4 separate regions of the Homo sapiens genome follow, and all the other regions are linked to region 4. The links are contacts of gene promoters, found by promoter capture Hi-C in human tissues and cell types (Jung and others, 2019). All regions are on one chromosome and are shown on one strand. The core of a region is centred on a gene start or on the middle of the fragment in contact, and the rest is flanking DNA. Distances in the headings are between cores, read along the strand shown. Region 1 overlaps SPRY4-AS1 (SPRY4 antisense RNA 1). Region 2 has its middle 97 kb from the start of SPRY4-IT1. Region 3 overlaps SPRY4-AS1 (SPRY4 antisense RNA 1). Region 4 holds the start of SPRY4 (sprouty RTK signaling antagonist 4).

Evidence for each region. The method cuts DNA at HindIII sites, captures the fragments that hold promoters and counts their contacts. A contact is called where the count stands out against the background at its distance.
Region 1: a fragment that was not itself captured here is called in contact with the fragment with the promoter of SPRY4 in region 4 in 2 of the 25 tissues and cell types used here (IMR-90 fibroblasts and heart right ventricle).
Region 2: a fragment that was not itself captured here is called in contact with the fragment with the promoter of SPRY4 in region 4 in 5 of the 25 tissues and cell types used here (IMR-90 fibroblasts, adrenal gland, aorta and 2 more).
Region 3: a contact is called between a fragment that was not itself captured here and the fragment with the promoter of SPRY4 in region 4, in 3 of the 25 tissues and cell types used here (bladder, heart right ventricle and stomach).

Annotation. Positions count from the first base shown.
Region 1 is chr5:142,396,220-142,399,993 of GRCh38, reverse strand. The region is part of intron 3 of SPRY4-AS1 (SPRY4 antisense RNA 1); the gene reads right to left. Among named protein-coding and RNA genes, the nearest start is that of SPRY4-AS1, 73 kb to the right of the region's middle. RefSeq lists a silencer at 2,456-2,750. The HindIII fragment of the contact is 4,654 bases long and covers 68-3,774 here.
Region 2 is chr5:142,219,471-142,222,865 of GRCh38, reverse strand. No RefSeq gene overlaps it. Among named protein-coding and RNA genes, the nearest start is that of SPRY4-IT1, 97 kb to the left of the region's middle. The HindIII fragment of the contact is 6,422 bases long and covers 1-3,395 here.
Region 3 is chr5:142,412,136-142,415,921 of GRCh38, reverse strand. All of the region lies in intron 3 of SPRY4-AS1 (SPRY4 antisense RNA 1), which reads right to left. Among named protein-coding and RNA genes, the nearest start is that of SPRY4-AS1, 89 kb to the right of the region's middle. The HindIII fragment of the contact is 6,109 bases long and covers 1-3,786 here.
Region 4 is chr5:142,323,639-142,327,134 of GRCh38, reverse strand. It overlaps SPRY4 (sprouty RTK signaling antagonist 4), which reads left to right and starts at 2,114. Exons shown (of 2, transcript NM_001127496.3): 1 at 2,114-2,291. SPRY4-AS1 (SPRY4 antisense RNA 1) reads right to left here and starts at 1,842. Exons shown (of 4, transcript NR_120664.1): 1 at 1,765-1,842. RefSeq lists enhancers at 2,648-2,707, 2,189-3,151, 3,152-3,496. The HindIII fragment of the contact is 10,639 bases long and covers 1-3,496 here.

The sequences.
Region 1 (3,774 bases), core at 1,145-3,644, 73 kb before region 4:
GTGAGCAGGATATTAATCAACAGCCTCACATTCACATCCTACCAGGTCCAGCAGAAATAGACCATCTTCCCCAACAACTCTGGCAGAGAAGTACCAGGAAGGACTCAACTGACTCAGACCACCTGCCTACTCTTAAGGACACAGGGCAAAGGTCAGCCCCATCCAACTCCACAAGAAAAGGTGTTCTCTTCCCAGACGGAATGAGCGATAATGGAAAGGAAACCAAAAACGGATTTCCACCTAAACAAATCTCTCCTGCTTTAAGATCAAATCTGATTTTTGGCACAGACATTCATTGGCAGTGGTAAGCATGAGTGATGCCACAGGGCTGGGTTACTCTGTCACCCAGGCAAAGTGAGTTATTAGCTAACATTCACTAGAAATGCCCAAATACTACTACCAAAATCTAGGTAATAATTTTTTTGTTGTTGTTGTTTTTTGTTTTTTTTTTAATTTTCTAAGAGGCAGAGTCTCAGTCTGTCACCCAGGCTGGAGTGCAGTGGCACAATCGTAGCTCACTGCAGCCTCCAACTCCTGGGCTCCAGCAATCCTCCCGAGTAGCTGGTTCTACAGGCACACATCACCATGCCCAACTAATTTTTTTTTTTGAGACGGTGTCTCGCTCTGTTGCCCAGGCTGGAGTCCAGTGGCGTGATCTCAGCTCACTGCAACCTCCGTCTCCTGGGTTCAAGCAATTCTCTGCTTTAGCCTCCCAAGTATCTGGGATTACAGGCACCCACCACCACCCCTGGCTAATTTTTGTATTTTTAGTAGAGATGGGGTTTCACCATGTTGCCCAGGCTGGTCTTGAACTCCTGACCTCAGGTGATCCACCTAACTCGGCCTCCCAAAGTGGTGGTTATAGGTGTGAGCCACTTTGCCTGGCCCATGTATCATTATTTTACATATCAGTTCAACAACAGTGAGCAAGACCAACCTCTCATTCTCACAGTACTTTCATTTTAATGGAAAGAGACAGAAAATACACATATATAATATGTCAGGAGGTGGGAAGTGACATAAAGAAAGATGGAGCAGGAAGTAATAAAGTAATCAGGGAAGGCCTCTCAGGTTCCCAGGGGGAACAAGGGGCATGAGCCTTGGGGATACTACAGGAAGAACATTCCAGGCAGAGAGAACCGCCAGAGCAGAGGCCCTGAGACTAAGGGAGCAAAGGGTGTTTGCAGAAGAGCCAGCAGAGCAGCGGGCTGCTATATGCAAGGGTGAGAGGGACGGCAGGGCCTCACCAACCAAGGTAAGGGCTTTCGGTCTCACCCAAGTGAGATATCTGGAGACAACCCAGATATTCTAAGCCACCTGCCTTTCCTGCACTGTCTAGACATTCAGGTGGCTGGCCCTGCTGGAGACCATTCCACAGCCCCACAACTTAGAGCCACAAGTCCAATCTCTACACCCATCACTTCCCCACTCTCAGATACTTCACAGAGGAAACCTCCCCAGGGCCTGTGACACCACTTTGCAATTCTCCTGTCTTCCCAGCAGCACCAGCTACATAATTTGTAGCGCCCAGTTAGGGTTGCCAGATAAAATACAGGATACCGAATTGGAATTCCAGATAAAGAGTAATTGGTTTGTTTGTTTGAAACTGAGTTTTGCTCTTGTTGCCCAGGCTGAAGTGCAATGGCACGATTTCAGCTCACTGCAGCCTCTGTGTCCTGGGTTCAAGCGATTCTCCTGCCTCAGCCTCCTGAGTAGCTGGGATTACAGGCGCCCGCCACCACGCCCAGCTATTTTTTTGTATTTTTAGTAGAGATGGGGTTTCGCTATGTTGGCCAGGCTGGTCTCAAACTCCTGACCTCAGGGGATCCACCCACCTTGGCCTCCCAAAGTGCTGGGATTACGGGCGTGAGCTACCGTGCCCAGCTGTGAGTAACTGTTAATCTCAGTATGTCCCAGATATTGCATGGGACACACTTACACTCAAAACAAATATGAAAATGAAGCGGCCTGTGTTCAAAAATCATTAACAATTTCAAGACAGTGATGCCAGAGCATTATACAAAGCAAGAAGCCCTTTTAAGTGTAGGGACCCGTGCGACTGCTCAAGCTGCCCACTCATGAAGCCAGCCCTGCTCCCCACTCAGCTCTCCTGTCCTTACAGGAGACAATTGCAATTCAACTTCCCTAAACATCTGACCCACCACTCCCTCTCTTGCAGCTACTTTATATAGGAAACAAACCATCTTAAAGGAAGTTCCTCAATGTCCCAGTCCCACCCATTCTCCTGGTCTCTACTCTACCTGTTCCAATGGGAGTCCTCTTTCTATCTGAGTCAGGATCCCATACTCTTCCCCACCTTCTCAGGTCCTCACACTTTCCACTACCCACCTCGTCTCTATCTTCAACTTCTGTTCTACCAGAAGTCTACCTCTCAGAAGCAATTTAACATGCTCCAATCTTCCTGCATGGTTTTTGTTTTGTTTTGTTTTGTTTTTTTTAAAAAAAAAGCTTTCCTGGATCCTCACATACCCTTCCCTTCATATTTAATATCTTGAATGAAGGAGCTACATTCCCATCAACCTTCTGTTATCTGGCTGTCACACTCTTGCTGTCATCATCAATGACCTTTGTGGTACTTCTCAGGCCTTATCTTTCTTTCCTGCTTAAAACTCCCTTTCCTCAGTGTTAGTGTCACCAAATTCTCCTGGCTTCTTCTATGTGAGGCATGTCTTCTCGGTTTCCTCTGTGGGCCTCCTTTCCTTAAACACGGCTCTGTCCTAGACTCTCTTTTCATGTGTTACACACTCTCACCCACCATGGAACCCAGGGGTTCTACGTGTTGAAGCAGCCCACATTTCTCTCTAGTCCAGATGTCTCTCCTGAGTTTCAGACTCTAATGTTTACAGGACAGCTCCACTCTATGTCCTTGAACTCAACATGTCCAAAATGAGACTCAAAAAATAAAAAGTGGACTCCTTCTCCCCTATGCCCTCACCTGGTACTGTTAAGGCAGGAGAATAGGGTCTGAAGGTAGGGAACCTAAGGCTGATTTGTGCTGACTTCCTAGAACTGAATCAAAAGGAAAATCTTACCTCTCTACGCCCAAGTAACAAAAGGATCAGAGGCTACTCCTTTTGCAACCCCACCCCCTTTCTGCATTGCAAATGAAAAATGGAAAGCACCTCTGATTGGTCCCCTCCCACAACCAATCAGACTGGTCCCTGGCCAAGTCTTCATTTGCATAGGTTGTAACTCTGTAACTTCACTTCAGCCTCTAATTGGTCACCTCCCACAACCAAACAGACTGGTCATGGACCAAGTCTTCATTGACATAGGTTGTAGCCAAGTAACCGATGGGAAACCTCTAGAGAGTATTTAAACCCCAGAAAATTCTGTAACCAGGGCTTGCTCCAGCCCACTCCCACTCTGTGGAGTGTACTTGCATTTCAATAAATCTGTGCTTTCATTGCTTCATTCTTTCATTGCTTTGTGTGTGTTGTCCAATTCTTTGTTCAAAATGCCAAGAACCTGGACAACTCATGGTCAAGACCTTCCACTGGTAACACTGCCTTCTGTTTCTGAATGGTAACCCATTTCCAAGCCATAAACTCAGGTGATTCTCCTCCACCTTCATATCATCAAATCCCAATTCTGCTTTCTAAATCTCTCTTGATTGCATGCCTTCCCTTCTGCCTCTCCTATTTCAGGTTACCTGGATCTCTTCCCTAGTAAAATCTTTCAACAGTCTTCCAGCCCATGCCATTCCCAATCTTGTCCCCTCCCATCTCCACTCAGCAGCCCCAGATGCACACC
Region 2 (3,395 bases), core at 643-3,142, 100 kb after region 4:
TGGAGAGGATCGGGGCTCTTAGGGTGCTTATTCAGATGCAGTGTTGCTCTTTGCCCACCTCCCCTCACTTCCTCCCATGCCTCTCAGAGAAGTGAAAATAGAGCTGATGATTGGTGCGAGGAAGCCTGTGCCCATGGCCCGGAATTCCTCCAGCCTGATTCACGGGCTTTGGTTCTAATGCACTAGAATTCTCCACTGGGCGGGGGCACCAAGAGGATTCTGGACCACAGCGGTCACACCTGCTGCTCACTTCCACCTCTCACATCTGCTGTGAGGCCCACTCCCCACCAGCTCCATCAGCCAGAAGGCTGCTGTGGCTGGGGTTGCGAGAGAAGGGAGGCGGAACACTTCCTATCCCAGGGGCAATTTCAAAATCAACGCATCCCTTGCCGACCCAACGGCAAACCAACTGCTTGTTTAAGGAAATCAGTGGAATGTATGCAATTAATTACAGGGCAAATCTCAAGTCAGACTAAATACTGGAAATCAGGAACCAGAGTCCAAGTCCCTTTCGTGATCGGAAGGGGGAACTTCCCGATTTGATTGCAGAAAGCAATTTACTTCAATTAGCAGTGACATAAACAGAGTGATTGCTTAATAGGAGCACTGAATCTCTAAAAAATAAACAGCCTGAATTGCATCCTTTACCATTATATTAGCAGCATGGGATTGCTTTTCCCAAGACAGGTTTGATTAACTCTTTAGGAACCATCCTCACTCCTAAGCAGATCTCTTCAGAGCTCCTAAAAAGTCTTCACATCATGGTCCTGGCATTTGTTGTGCACCTCGGGCATATATGTTCATCAATTTGCTTGTTGCTTTAACTTTCAAGTCTTTTAATCCTCTATAATCCTGTGAGATATGTATTATTATGCTCATTTTTAACAGAGGGGGAAAATGAGGCTCAGAAAATTCATGGTGGTGATCTTTTCAAATACATACCTAATCATGTCATTCTCCTGCTTAACTTACCCTCGAAAGCCTTCCAAACCCCTCAGCATAGCCTCCAAAGCCCTGTGTGATCTGTTTCTGGCCTACTTCTCCCACCTCTGCTCAAACCACTTCTCCGCTTGCTCACCACATTTTATATTTTCAGGCCACTGCCTGTTTTGCAAGCGCGTCAAGCCCATTCCCATCTCAAGGCCTTTGCACTTGCTGTTCCCTGCGCCTGGAGCACTCTTCCTCCATTTCCAGAACTGACTTCTCAGCTTCCAGGACTCTGTTCAGAGGCTACGTCCTCAGAGAGGAGTTCCCTGTCCGTCCCATGTTCCCCACTCCCTTTCGGCTTTTGACTAACACTTAGCATGATCCAAAATTATCTTGTTTGTTTATAGTTGATGTATTTCTTGTTTGTCTCCCTCCTGGAATATAAGCTCCAGGGCGGCAGAGATCCTGTCTCCTGTTTGTCTTGTTCATTTGCACAGGGTCAAGCATACGGTAGGCAGACAGAAGATATTTGCTTAATAAAGGAAGTATTGTCCCTGCTTTTATACAGATGAGGAAATGGAAGTTGGGAGAAGTTAGGCCATTTCACAAGGTCAAACAGCTGGGAAGCAGCTCCAGGGGATTCACAGGATTCAGACATCGCTTTCTCCCATGCAGCTACACTACTTTTTTGAGGACTCTCCTTTCCTCCCTATTCTCTTCCCCCACCACCTTCTCACCTCCACCCTACCACCCCAGCCCCAGAAAGTAGGCACTCATCCAACCAGCCGGGAGAGCATTAAAATCACAACCACAAAGCAAAATCTCCTCTTCCTGTTTAAACTCCCTCCTGTGGTACTGATGCTTCTTAGCCGGACAGGGTCCCGCTCATTGCAAGAATGTGAATTCTGGAAGTTAAAGATCTTAACACCCCTCTCCCTCTGGCTCCCCACCTTGAAGGATTTAGATACCGAACTGGGCTCCCCTTAGGAAATGCATCCCCGGACTTGGACTGTGGAGGTAGTGGGCAAGATGTTTGGTGAAGCTTTCGCTGCCCTGTGACCCCACCCACCCCACAGCCAAATCCTACCCTTGGCCCAAGCTCCCCACACTGCCCAGTGAATTGGGGCTGTAAACTGGAGGAGGGAAGGCTGGAGAAGCCAAGGTCAGTGGCGGGAGAAGTGCAATGGGAGAAGACCAGGGAGAGGGTGAACACTGAAGAATTTGAGAGATGTGTGAGTGCCCCAGAATTGGGCTGTAGGGAAGTCGGCCTCCCTGAGCAGGCAGCCGTGTCGGGGCTGACCTGAAAGCAGAGGTCTGTCCCTTAGATGCTGGCTGGCTTTGGGGCTCAGAGTCTTCATCTGGTCCCTCCGCAGCATCACCTTCAGGAGAAGTTCAAGTGCAGCTGTCATTGCAGTCCCAGTTTCACTATCCATTCCCTGTGTCTCCTTGAACAGGGCTTTAACCTCTCTGAGGCCACTTCCTGCTTGATAAGGAGACCACATCGCCCACCCTGCTTCATATGCAGATTTCTTTTTTTTTTTTTTTTGAGACGGAGTCTCGCTCTGTTGCCCAGGCTGCAGTGCAATGGCGTGATCTCAGCTCAGTGCAACCTCCACCTCCTGGGTTCAAGTGATTCTCCTGCCTCAGCCTCCTGAGTAGCTGGGATTACAGGTGTGCACCACCACGCCCAGCTAATTTTTGTATTTTTAGTAGAAACGGGGTTTCACCATGTTGGTCAGGCTGGTTTTGAACTCCTGGCCTTGTGATCCACCAGCCTCAGCCTCCCAAAGTGCTGGGATTACAGGCGTGAGCCACCACACCCAACCATATGCAGATTTCAATAGTTTTTTTTTTTTTTTTTTTTTGAGATGGAGTTTCGCTCTTGTTGCCCAGGCTGGAGTGCAATGGCACGATCTTGGCTCACCACAACCTCTGCCTCCCAGGTTCAAGCGATTCCCCTGCCTCAGCTTCCCGAGTAGCTAGGATTACAGGCATGTACCACCATGCCCAGCTAATTTTGTATTTTTAGTAGAGACGGGGGTTTCTCCATGTTTGTCAGGCTGGTCTCGAACTCCCGACCTCAGGTGATCCGCCTGCCTCAGCCTCCCAAAATGCTGGGATTACAGGCATGAGCCACCACGCCCGACCAATAGTTTTATTTATTTATTTTGAGATGGAGTCTCGCTCTGTCACTGAGGCTGGAGTGCAGGGTGCGATCTTGGCTCACTGCAGCCTCTGCCTCCCAGGTTTAAGTAATTCTCCTGCCTCAGCCTCCCAAGTAGCTGGGATTACAGGCATGAGCCACCAAGCCTGGCTAATTTTTGTGTTTTTAGTAGAGATGGGGCTTCGCCATGTTGCCCAGGCGGGTCTTGAACTCCTGGGCTCAAGTGATCCACCACACCCAGCCCAGATTTCAGTAGCTTTAAATAAGAGAACGAATGGGAAAGTGCCCTGGAAGGTTTAAAGTA
Region 3 (3,786 bases), core at 760-3,259, 89 kb before region 4:
CTCCTGTGATGTCATTATCTCCTGTTCTAACTCATTCCCTACTCCCATTTTCTTCTTCCCTCAGGCAGCTATCCTAATGTGTGTAATGTGCATCTTTCCCTACGTGTTCTTGTAAGATGTGTATAGTTAATATGTATGTAGGTTTCCAAAACTTTTAATTATAAAATGCTAATATTTTAATAAGTGGTATTTTATAGATGTCATTCCAATCTTTTTTCACTCAGCTCAATGTTTTTAATCTCATCATGTTGCTAATATATAACCAGCTACACACGATAAAAAATTAATTTAATGCCATAATTGAATTATAAAGAAGTGAAAGGAAATGAGTTTATAATAAAATATCTAATTCAATATGTAAATTCACAGGCACAAATATACTAAAAGACATAATGAAATAGGAGCTTTTAAGGAAAAACTTTGGATTTAAGAGAAGAAAGGAAAGACTCTATTAATATTGTCAAAATCTTCCTTAAAATTTTTGGTATTTTGAAATGAAAGCTAAATAGATATCTATATAATTATAAACATTTTGCCTATATAAATGTTTGGTAGGACATTTGATGGTCATATGAGTCATGAGGCTTTTTGTTATGGTGGGTGTATTTCTTGTACATCTAGCATTCCTGCCAATCCATTGCTGGTTAAACCCCTCCCCTGTCACTTTGACAAACAACAATGCCCTCATCAGTGTCCAAAATGCCTCCTGGAGATGGATCATAGACCCAAATATAAAACTTAAGATTATCACACTTTTAGAAAAAAAACATAGGAGAAAAACCTTTGTGAGCTTGGCTTAGGTAAGTGCAGGCAACTGTAAATTTGCTAAAGAGTAATGGACACACACACACACACACACACGCAGAGAGAGAGAAATAGAGACAGATGAGAGAGAGAGAAAGCACTTGCCTATATATAGGAATAAGGCAAAAATGTCCACTCTCACCACTTCTATTCAACATTGTACTAGATTCCAGGCCAGGGAAATAAAACCACAGAAGGAAATAAAAATCATAAAAATTAGAAGAAAAGTCAAACTCCTCATTTGGAGACTACATTATTGTATATGTAGAAAATCCTATGGAATCTACCAAAAAATTACCAGAACTAATAAGTAAATTTAGCAAAGTTGCAGAATACAAAGTCAAAATAATATGCAACAGTAAACTGCATTTCTACAGATCAGCAATAAACAACTGGAATGTGAAATTTAAAATACCATTTGTGATAGCATTTTTAAAAACTTAAAATACTTATCTATAAGTTTAACAGAAATATGCATAGCTTGTACACTGAAAACTACAAACTATGGCTAAAAGATTAATAAAGATCTAGCCAAGTGTAGAGGTTTACCATGTTCATGGATTTGAAGGTTCATTATTTCTAAATTGAATCTTAAATGATTCACCAATATGGACTTATTTATTATTCATTTGAAAATATGTCTTAGCCTCTCCTATGCACAGGGTACTGTCCTAAATGCCAGGGATACAGCGGTAAAGAAGATAAACAAATATCCCTGCCTCCATGGAGCTTACATTTTAAACAGAAACCACAACATAAAAAAGCAAAATACTAGTAAGTCAGATGGCAACAAGAGGTCGGGAGGAAAGCAATGAAGGGGAGCGGGATAAGGAATGTAGTGAAAGGAATGAAAATTTAGATGGAGTGGAGACACTTTAACAAAGACCTAATATAGAGGTAAAAGTAAGGCTTGTAGGTAGCAGGGGAGAAAGTATTCTAGGCAAAGGGAACAACAAATAAATTATTCTAGGTAACAAGTCTAGAATGTTGTAGCAACAACAAGGAGGGCAGTACAACTGAAATAGAATGAGCAAAGGGCAGGTGACAGGACGTGAGGTCAAAGCAGCAACAGGCCAGTTTAGGCCGAGCTTCATAAGGCCGTTTTAAAGACTCTGGCTTTTATTCTGAGTGGCATGTGCAGCCATTGAAGGATTTTGAGCAGAGTGACGGGACCTACTGATCCTTTTTTTTTTTTTTTTTTTTTTTGAGACAGGTTCTCACTCTGTCACCCAAGCTGGAGTTCAGTGGTGCAATCATGGCTCACTGCAACCTCAACCTCCCCGGCTCAAGCCTCCCACCTCAGCCTCCCAAGTAGCTACGACTACAGGCATGTGCCACCACACCTAGATTATTTTTTTAAAGTTTTTTTACAGACAGGGTCTCGCTATGTTGTTCGGGCTGGTCTTAAATTTTTGTGTTCAAGCTATTTTCCCACCTTGGCCTTCCAACAGTGCTGAGATTAGAGGCATGAGCTACAGTGCCTGGCTTGATAATACTTTAGAAGGATCATTCTGACTGCCATGTTGAGAATGGCAGGTCAGCAGTAGAAGCAGTTAGGAACTGACCGCAATAATCTAGGCAAAAGATAATGGTGGCTTGGGCCAAGGTAGTGGTAACAGAAGTGGTGACAAATGCAAAGAGTCCAGATATACTCACAAGGTAGATAGGATTTCCCTTACTTAGCTGTCCTTTGGAAAGCCCCTCTCTGGCAGGCACCTGACTGTCACCTGTAGTCCTGGAATGTTCTCTCTATAACCCACCACATGTTTAGGGAGGGTAGCTGTTCACCCCTGCACACCAGAGATCTCAACAGCAGACCAAGCTTTGAGGAGCTAAGGAAGTTCAGGTCCAAGGGGGAAAGCAAGTTACTCCTCTCTCTTTCCCCTTCTCTCAGCCTGACGGGCTTCCTGTTAGGAAATGTAGCCCTACTACCTGCTTCAGAGGATGGCAAGGGCAGGAGCCAGCGTGCCATGAGGTTAGGGGTGGCGATGCTGCTTAGCAACCCCTGCTTAGCTCACAGACCAGCGCTCCCAGACCTTCCAGGCAGCACTCCTGCAAACTCATCAATCTCCCACCCTGGTCTCTACCAGGTGCAGCTCCTGGCCCTGGGGTCACTTTTCTACCAAAAGCAGCCACAGGGCTCAGCAAGCGAGTGCTTAGTTCTATGTTCAGGAGGCCCACACAGGCCACTAGGTACGCACATACGCTGTCAGTTGCTCTCATACACATGCACACACGTGCAAACAACTGTCAGGTCAACCTAGAGTGGCAGGCACATCTGGTTTTTCTGAAGTGGGTGGTAGGGATCTAGAACAACACTGCTCTGCACTCTGACAATTCCAAGCGCAGACTCCTGTAAAAGCTTGGACAGAGCTACTTAAATCCCACATGCCAGCCCTGCTTAGGTTGGCAGATCATGAGACCATGACTGTGTCTGGGAAGGCAAGGGCAGAGGCCTTTGTCTGCTTTTTGGGTTACAAAAGTGGATTGGGCTGGCACCTACAGCTATGAATAAAAGGGGAAGAGAAGGCAACAAAAGAGAGGGAGTGACTGGGGTGGAGGTAAAAATATCTTTTCCTCTAGAGGGGACTTTAGAGAAATTTCTTCTCCTAGGTCTTTCCTATACATGTGGCTTTTTCTCCTTTTCTCGTGTCTCAGTCACTGGCCATGGGGCACAGAGGCTGGAGGATAACAGAAGCAATGCGAGAGTGAAGTCCAGGCATCTCAGGCTAAACCCACTGCCACCCAAGCATGGAACTGACAGCATGCAGAGCCAGGTGGCTGGAAGTTGGGCAAAAGGGGCAACTGGAGGAGAGTTGGGGAGAGGCAACCATGAGAATAAGGCAGAGGATTTACAGGAGAATATGGCCCAGAGCCCTTGGGGATAGGCCACACAGGACACAGCAGATGGTCCCCAAGCTGGCCTGATCCTCCCATCCCGTTTAATAAGGAGTCAGGATTATGTGCTCAATACCTGAGGTC
Region 4 (3,496 bases), core at 865-3,364:
CCTCCCCGCGGCTCCTCCAATCCTCCTTTTCTGCCATAGATTTAAGATTTATTTATTCCCATCCTTCTGACTGTTTCAGCAAGGGCCATGGGTGAGCACCAGCTGGAAAATTACTGCTTCAACTTTCATTGTTTAAAATGCTTAAATGACATGCGAGAAACAGGTTTTTAGGTCTGTGATGCTGAGAAGGGTTGGTAGCAAAGTAAAGCCAGGTTGCAAAGACCTAGAAAATAAGTGCTACAATTTACCAGCTCTTCCATATACCCGGTGCAGGACCCTTGGCCTCAGTTTCTACAGCTGACAGAGAGGGCGATACTGAACTTCAACAGCCTTAAAAGGAAGTCCTGGACAACTGTACCCATTTTTCTGGCGAAGAGTTCTCTTGGTCTTAGAGAAAGGTCTCGCCCCTGAAAGGAAGGCTGAGGTTCCCTAGGGGAGAGTCTGCTCTGCCCTCAGGAGCTGGGTAAGTACACGGAGGGGTGAGCCGAATGGTGAGAAGGCATTTTAGGCTAGGACTCGGTGACCTTGGGCTGCCTGCCTCTAGAGTCCCAGCCCCAGCCCTAGGCCAGACCTCAGCCCTGGGCTGGGAGCCTTTCATTGGTTCCTCTGACAACAGCCAAGCACAATCCTATAGTGGCGTAGGAAGAAAAAGACTGCCACACAATCTCCCCGTGCGGCCAGAACAGCGGCAAGACAGACCTTACAAGGGACTCAGGGCCAAGCCCTGGCCCAGACTCTGCTCTTATCCACGCATCAAAGCCACCCCCCGCCCCGGACTTCCCGGAGGCTACAGGCTCCTCCGTTCCAGGGAGGAGCAGGGCCTGCTGCGAGGGCTCCCCGCCTTCCTGGAGTCAGGCCTAATGGCGGGGGCTTTTCTTTTCACCGGCTTGAGCTGATCCTCACCCCCGCCCCCCAACGCCACCATCATTAACAGCGAAGAAAGGATCCCCAGCCATTTCCATTTCCTCTGCGGCTCAAGAGCCCCGTTGTTATTTAATCCTGAGGCCACCCCGGCAGCATCCTCGGCGCAGCCGGCTCCACCCATCCACCTGGCCAGTTCTCGGCCGCTCCCACTTCCCCGGAGGGGAGGCCGGTGAGAGGTGGGGGATATTGGGGAAAGGCGCCTACAACAGCGAAGGGCCGTGGGCCTTCGGTGGACCGAGGCTCCTCAGGCCAGCGTCCTGTGAGGGCTGGGAAACCGACTGGGACAGAGAAAGGACACCTAGCTAGGGCGACAGAGAGCGGGCAGACGCCCGGGCACTGCGGACATTGCACTGGGGCGGGGGGCGGGGGGAACGCTGGGAGGCGAGGGCCAGGCTTCCTCTGGCTGAGTTGCCAGAATCGCCCCGGGGGGTACTGGAGCCGGAAGAGGCCTGGGCCCAGTCACTGTCTACACCCAAGAAATGGGGGGAGGGGCGGCCAGCACTCACGAGAGATTCAGCCTCAGGAAAAAGAACCAGATTCACTCACCAATCCTCACCCCACCCTTTGATATGAATGATGGACATTTTCCTAATTTTTGGTAAACGCAGCTTCAAGACCCCTCCCGCCTGGCGTCTCTGGTCTAGAGCAAGAGAAGGCCCCCAGTAGGGGTCCTCCCGCCCCCCCTTTTGACTGCCTGCGGGGGGCAGAGATCCCCAGATCTAGGTGTGCCCTCCACCACCCTGCTCTCAACCCGGGATCCGGAGGCCGCAGCGTCCCCCACCCCCCAGCGACACTGACGGTTCCTGCCCAGGCCCGCAGTGGCGTGAAGGTGGCCTTTACCTCCTCTCGCAGGCTGGGAGGGGGTGCAGCCCGCGCAGCTGGCCCAGCTGCAGCAGTCGCCGCCGCCCTCCATTCATTAAAAAAAAAAAAAAAAAGGCAACAACAGCCTCCACTGGAACCTCCACCCCTCTTTGTAAAAGAACGACGGCTCCTGGTGGAGCTTGAGCCAGTCCCAGCAATCACGGGTTAAGATCTTTTCCCGCCCCCCATTCATAAAAAAAGGAGCGGAGCGCATGCGCGCTCAGGGTCTGTTGTGCCCACCCATTCATAGAATCGCGAACGGCACGCGTGCGCACTGGCGCTCCCTTCCCTCCCATTCATAAAAAAGCCATTTTCCCAGGCAGTGGTTGCAACATCGCCGCGGAGGTAGCGAGCTGAGCTGACAGCGCGGAGCTGGCGCTGTGGAGCGCAGGGAGCCTTGCCGGTTCCTCCGACCGGCGTCTGCGAGTACAGCGGCGGCTAACCTGCCCCGGCTTCAGGATTTACACAGACGTGGGGCGATGCTTGTGACCCTGCAGCTCCTCAAAGTAAGTCCATGGCTGGTTTGGAGATCTGAAACTGCCCCTCTCTGAGCCGCGACGCGACTCCCCCCTTGGGCTGGGGCAAATGGTGCGCTATTTCTAGGCGCGCCTCAGTGTTCCTTCCCTCAGCCTGCGCCTCCTTGAGTCGCTGCGGTGCGCCGCAGCTCCCTGACGCCCTCGGCCCGGCCGGCACGGCGCCGGGGGTGTTCACAGCCTGGCACCGCCGTTTCCGACCCCTGGGCATTGCCAAGCCCGGCTTCCCCGCCCTCTGAGACTCGGGAAGCCCCGTGCGTGTCCCGGGAGTTTGCCTCTGGCCTGGCCTCTTTCCTTCTCCTGCCACCATCCGCCTCGAACGCTGGAACGGGCGTCTCTGGGCTTGGTCAGGAGCCACCGTTTGGGTCGGGGGGCGCCCTCGCTCTGGGCGGCTCGCCCACCTCCCAGCTCGGTGCCCACGGTGCCAGCTTTGCCGTGTATCTCCCAGCCCGCCGTAGCGGCCTATGCTCGACGTAGATTTTTTCTTTCTCTTCGGAGCCGTGACGGACTGAATTCCCTCCCCTTCTGCCTCTCCCTCGATGGTCAGCGAGGGGCTGGCTCAGGACTGGGCATTCCTACTCCCTCTCCTTGGCGAGGCGGTTCCTCGCCGTCTGACCTTTGCTCCGCTGCCGCATTTTATGCTATGCAACTGCCTTGCAGTTGACTTTTTCTTGCCTGGCCTCTGTAAGGCCTGAGGCTCCTCGGCCACCCTGTACCTCCCTATCCTCGGGCACCGAGCTGTGCCAGGCCCCGGAGCCCCCAGGCCGCGCTAGGGCTGCGGTGGGGGTTGAAGGTGCGTTTACATAACACCAGGCGTGTGGGAGCTGGAGGAAGAGGTTGCGAATGTAGGAGAGATAAGGCTCCTGCTTTCCCTCCTTCCTTCTTGGTGGTACCAGGCTTGACATCACAGAGAAGAGGATAGAGACGGTATGTTCTGACAAATTCTGAATCGCCAAGACCCCGGGGACAGTGAGCTGGGTGAGGGCGGGTTTGGCTAGCCAGGGCAGCTAGAGCTTGGCTCCATCACTGGGTCCAGGGCTGTGCCCAGTTCCCCCTCCATGCAGACGATCAAAAAGCATTTAGACAGTAGCTGCTCTTGTGCAAGAAGACGGTTTCTCAATTCTCCTTGATTGGGGGCAGGGGGTTGTGGGCAGGAGAGGCAGGGGAGACAGAAAATG